Regions from separate parts of the Homo sapiens genome. Here region 2 is linked to region 1. Evidence: promoter capture Hi-C in human tissues and cell types (Jung and others, 2019). All regions are on one chromosome and are shown on one strand. The core of a region is centred on a gene start or on the middle of the fragment in contact, and the rest is flanking DNA. Distances in the headings are between cores, read along the strand shown.

Region 1 (2,700 bases), core at 120-2,619:
ATTGGAATAGGTAATTTCTAGTAAGGTGGAAGCAGGGTGGATAGGATGAAATGATTAAAAAATGAGAACTACTATGAGTTAGAGTTGTATCATTTCTCCATATAACTTGAATCTTTATACTTCAAACATTTGCACATTACATGTATATTTGTACATATAACACATACTTGTATATATATTCCCTATTACTATAATAGTATTTATTAAGAATAATGATGAATATTGTGCCGGGGAGTCCTCTAATTATGGCTTAAAAAGAAATCTTTCAGCTTGGGCAACATGGCGAAACCCCATCTCTACAAAAAAATACAAAAATTAGCTGGGTGTGATGGTGCACGCCTGTAGTCCCAGCTACTTACTGAGGCAGGAGATCGCTTGAACCTGGGAGGTCAAGGCTACAGTGAGTCGAGATTTCACCACTGCACTCCAGCCTGGGACACGAAGTGAGACCCTGTTTCAAAAAAAAAAAAAATTTAACAGAGTAAGAACCTATACTTTAACTGGAGGGCGATGTGAGGAGTCAAAATAATTGATTAATCAATTATGTCCTCAGCATTGAAAGTCATTGTTTTTGTCTGGAGATGTGTAAAACGTACACTTTGATCTCCAGTTGTTTATAGTCTACTTGGGAATATAAATCTAACAAGAAATATGTAATAACAATAATAACAGCTAACATTGTTGAGTACTGTGTACCGGGCATTGTACTGAGTACATTATATAAATTATTTTACTTAATCCTCATAACCATCAGAGTAGGAAGATTTCATCTTTTTTCCCTCTTTTTATAGTTGGAACTGAGGCTTAGATGTGTGCAAATAAGTGGCAAGGTTCAGATTCAAAATCAGCTAAATTTTATTTGAAGCCTAAAACACTTAACCCACCTACCTTTTATCTACTAAGCCTGTTAGTTCAAAGATTACCTGAAGGTAAATTTTATCAGGCCAGCTTTGGATCTGGGGGGAAAAAATGAAGGTAAATTTTAACTTGAATCGATCTAGACTGTTTATAATGGAATCTGTTGCCTAGCATAAGTTAAGCATGTTGAGGTCACAAAGGATAAGAAATTACCCTTAAGGGATGAAAATTCTTTAGAATAGAATGCAGTAGGCCCACGCAAACAACAACGTGTATAAATAGCTTAAATTAGCCTGTTTTTGCCTAAGTACATTAACTCAAAAGGAAACTCGGTTTAAGAAGTTCACTCCAAAAATAGTGCAAGAAGCATCACTGGTCCATAAAGAGGGGTGGAGTGGGTTACGTCATTTCAGCACCTTTTAAGGTAAAGGAGGAGGGAATCCTCTTGAACTCATTAGCCAATCAGGTTCTGAAGACACTTCCCAAGGCGACTTCCTGTCTCTCCACTTTCTTTCCCTCTCCGTTTTGGTGGGCTGGTGAGTGTGCGCTTAATTTTGCTCTCTAATTGTTTTGAATTTCTCTTCCATTTGAGTTATATACCCAGGTGGCAGGCCTTTATTTCAAGTCGGCATAGGAGTGTGTGTGAGTCGCAAGGAGATTAATTTCGGCTGTGTGGAGGTTGGGAGAAGGCAGTGAAATGCTCTTCCTGGCTTGTTTCCACGTGGGCCTCTGCAGTACTGGGTTTGCCTTCCGTCTCCGAGTCCTGGTGACCCAGGAACAATAGACTGTGCTTCATGTGCACAGTGCGTGTGTTCTTGGAAAACGCCGGCTTCATTTTGCTTGGCGGGAAAGATATTATCATCCTAATGCTGTTTTGATTTATATCTCCCTGGGTGAGGTCAGATTTCGGGAGAAGGCGTTCAGCTCAGTAGAGTTTAATTCTCCGGTGAGTGTCTAGAGGGCCCAGGTCCTTACTGGGTTTGTGGAAGCTGCAGCGTACCTTGTCTTTCTCCTGGCCTTCGCTCAGATCATTTCGGCTTTCTTGGTGAACCTGGGCAGCAAACTCTGAAGACAGATAAGCCTTAAAAGGAGCTCCTAATTTTTAATGTTGCCACTGTGGTGATTGTGTCCTTAAAAGCTATGGAAAAAGATTAGGGACCTTAGTTCAGGGCAAGCCTCTAGATTTAAATTCCAGCGCCACAGTTTACAGCTCTGGTGACCTTGGGAGAAGCAGTGAGCCATTCCGAGGCTTAGCTTTCCAAGATCAGATAAAATATATAAAAACTAGGCTCTAGTTGGTGTGTAATAAATGTTAGGTACCTTTAGAAGTAAGCAGTACTTATTTATTTACAGCAAGTATTTTGGATATCTGTTTTCTCATAAAAAGTTTGCTTAGTGACCTTCAATGTCATTTCACTGAATTCCTTTCTTTTGGTACATGTTAATTTTAATGTGATGTTTGTGTTGGATATTCTTATAGGCAGAAAGTGTGAGAAAGACAAATAATAAACCAGTTAATCGAATGTAGTAATAGGTATTTGTAGGCCTCCCATAATTTTTATAATTCTCAAGCATTGTTAAAATTTATTTTTTGGGGCATGGCGGCGCATGCCTGTAATCCCAGCTACTCGGGAGGCTGAGGCAGGAGAATCGCTTGAACCCGGGAGGTGGAGGTTGCGGTGAGCCGAGATCGCGCCATTGCACTCCAGCCTGGGCAACAAGAGCGAAACTCTGTCTCAAAAAAAAAAAAAAAAAAAAAAAAATATATATATATATATATATATGTATACACATCATATATATATATATTTTTGAATAGGTAATACATTCACATGGTTCAAA
Region 2 (2,767 bases), core at 64-2,563, 620 kb before region 1:
AAATAAAATAAAATAAAATAAAATAAAATAAAATAAAATAAAAAATAAATACAAATGACTCTACAAGGAAGGACTAGGAAGCCCAACAGGATGACCTAGTTGTGAAGAGGGTTTAGAGGAGATGACTAAAGCTTGATCAAAGCAAGAGTCTTCGACAGTTGCTAGATATCGGTTGAGACCTCAGCTTCTCAGCCTAAAGCAGGGAGAGGGATAAGACTGTGCTGTTTCATGACAGAAAGCGTCTCTTATCTTCAAATCTCTCTGTTTCCCGGAAGTCTCAGGTTAGAGGAAGAAAAATCTCTAGAGTAGATTGTCACTAAATGACAGCAGAGCGGCTAATGAAGACACACAGACACTTTCAGATGAATTTGCAAAGCAGTTTATTGCAGGGTTCACAAGGCACTTCAGCTCAGGAAAGCTGAAGGGGTATGGAGACTGATGAGGACAGATGCTGATACCCAAAGTATATGGAGAGATGGGATCTTGGCTATGATTGAGGAGCTTGGCAGATGAGTGATGATGAGGAGTGCTGATACAGGAGCTTAGATGATTCTATCCAGGTGAACTGGAACCACCGGATACTGTGGAGGGTCTCGTCGTTGATCTCTGTTGTCACATGCAACTATATAGAACATGTTTGCTGGTGTCTGCGCATACCTGCAGTTTGAAATATTCTGTGGACTTGGAGTTGTGAGGTTACAGTGGATTAAAGGCACCTGGCTTCCACTGTGGTGACAATTTTTGCGAGTTTTGTTACTAGGACAGGTCATATTTGGGTTACCACAAACATTAACTACGTTAGCAAAAGTTGTAAGAAGGAAAGTATTTTGGTTTTTGCATCGCCGTTGATAATTGTTAATGACCTGCATTGCATTGGTGCATTGCTGGGAGGTCATATTGATGTGCTGGGTTTCAAACCATTGAGCCCAGGTAAACTGTGGAGGTTTGACATGGAGTGAGCCCTCCACAGCCAGAAGCCCCAACAGAAGAAGCAGACAAATTTGGGAAGTGAACAGTTTTGGAACCATGTTTCCTGTAAGAAAAGAAGAGAAGTAACTACTCCCTGATCGGGTCTTGGTTATGACACACACTGTAGTGTCTTACCCCACAGGCCCCTCTGCGGCCACTCTGGGGTCCCATTTCCTTTACTTCCTGTCTGCAAAGTGTGCAACGTCTCCTAAGCACTAACGTCAGCTCTCTTCTCCCTCAGTTGCTGCCCCATTGCTGCCCCTTCTGTCCCAGCTCTGGGGATCGTTGACTTACCCAGTCTCCGCGCTGTAGCTCCTGTGAGAACTGATCCAGCTGGTTGTTCTGGGGTTCAGGGGCAGCTGGTCTCCCCTACTTGGAACTGTTTAAATAAAGCATCCCTTGGTGGGTTGGGCCAGCAGAGCCCAGAGGGAGGGTCTGGCTCTTGGCCATGCAGAAACCCACAGATTGGTACATAGTCCACTTGTGCAATCATCCTTTTTATTTGATGACTTGGCTGAGCAACGGATACCCAAGGACAGCCCTGCTGCTCTTTCTGCTATAAGGACTCTAATTCCAAGTCATCCTGTGTAAGACAGAGTTTTGCTGGTTAGATCCAAACTCTGGATGAAAACTATATGCTGCCTGCAGAATGACCACAGATTTTATAACTGTCCTCTGGCAGGCCACTAAATGACCAAAGTACATGAAGGCAGGCATAGTAGTTAGAACAAATAGAGCCACTGAGGGCTGTTTGCCCAGGAGAAACCCAGCTTCCCTTTCATTTTTAGTAATATCCTTGGTTCTCTCTCACACAAATGCTCTCCATCTCATCCACCACTCTTGCTGGAAACTTGAGCTATTAATTTCTTAGGGCACAAGATTCTGTAGATAATTAAAACAATCTGCTACACATACTTGAGGGATTTTTTTCTTTACTCCTCTTGCATTGGATCCACTTTCTCTTAAGTCTTGCCCTGATTATTGCTTCCACTTTGTGTAAAGTTACACAACCTAAAAACACACCGAGGACAGTTGTAAAGTCTGGCAGAGAATGAATGAACATTTGGTGTCATGAAAGATTCCAACCTAGCACTCGGTATTCCTGTGATCTTTTCAGCCTATGGTATTTTCTACAAAACACTGTGTTCTGGGGTTGTCATTCATCTTCCTGGTAAGTTTCATTTTGTGATATTAACAAGAAAATGGTTCTGTATTTACAAATGAACATTTAAGGACAGAGCACTGTATTCCTGAAAGTATAGAGGTCAAGTGTACAGTTTGATACACAAAGCATACATTTATTCTTGGCCCTCAGAGACATACAGGAAAGTAATTGTAGACACATAATTGTATTACACTTGTGTGAACATGGTTTCATGGGGACGCCGAGGGTGAAGGAAATCACTTGGCTTGAGGGACAAGGAAGACTTCAAAAAAAAAAGTTTGATTTCAGCAGGGCCCTAAAAGATAAGCAGGGAGTTTTCAGGGACTTTAGGGAAGAGATGAGCATTCTGGGCACAGGGGATGATGTGGGGAAATTGTACAGAGGTGGGAAGTGAATTGCAGTGGTAAGACCTGAGTACTAAGAGATGTTAAATCTGGTCTAGCTTTCAGATTAGAAAATTGATATTAGACCCTTAAATGATATAATATACCTTCCAACAGTTAATCTACATAATTTTTACTACCATCCAATTTTCCTGTCATTTAGAAATGCAATAATTTTATCACTGGGGTCCTTAGGTAAATGTGGACACAATGGTGACCCAGTGAGGACTCAATGCGCAGCTAATATTGC

What was found. The method cuts DNA at HindIII sites, captures the fragments that hold promoters and counts their contacts. A contact is called where the count stands out against the background at its distance.
Region 2: the fragment with the promoter of RNASE2 here is called in contact with the fragment with the promoter of CCNB1IP1 in region 1 in 1 of the 25 tissues and cell types used here (hippocampus).

Annotation. Positions count from the first base shown.
Region 1 is chr14:20,331,948-20,334,647 of GRCh38, reverse strand. CCNB1IP1 (cyclin B1 interacting protein 1) reads left to right here and starts at 1,369. Exons shown (of 7, transcript NM_021178.5): 1 at 1,369-1,394. RefSeq lists an enhancer at 1,290-1,599. The HindIII fragment of the contact is 13,028 bases long and covers 1-2,700 here.
Region 2 is chr14:20,954,033-20,956,799 of GRCh38, reverse strand. RNASE2 (ribonuclease A family member 2) reads right to left here and starts at 1,313. Exons shown (of 2, transcript NM_002934.3): 1 at 1,264-1,313; 2 at 364-1,033. The coding sequence starts at 1,028. The coding sequence ends at 543. The HindIII fragment of the contact is 15,094 bases long and covers 1-2,767 here.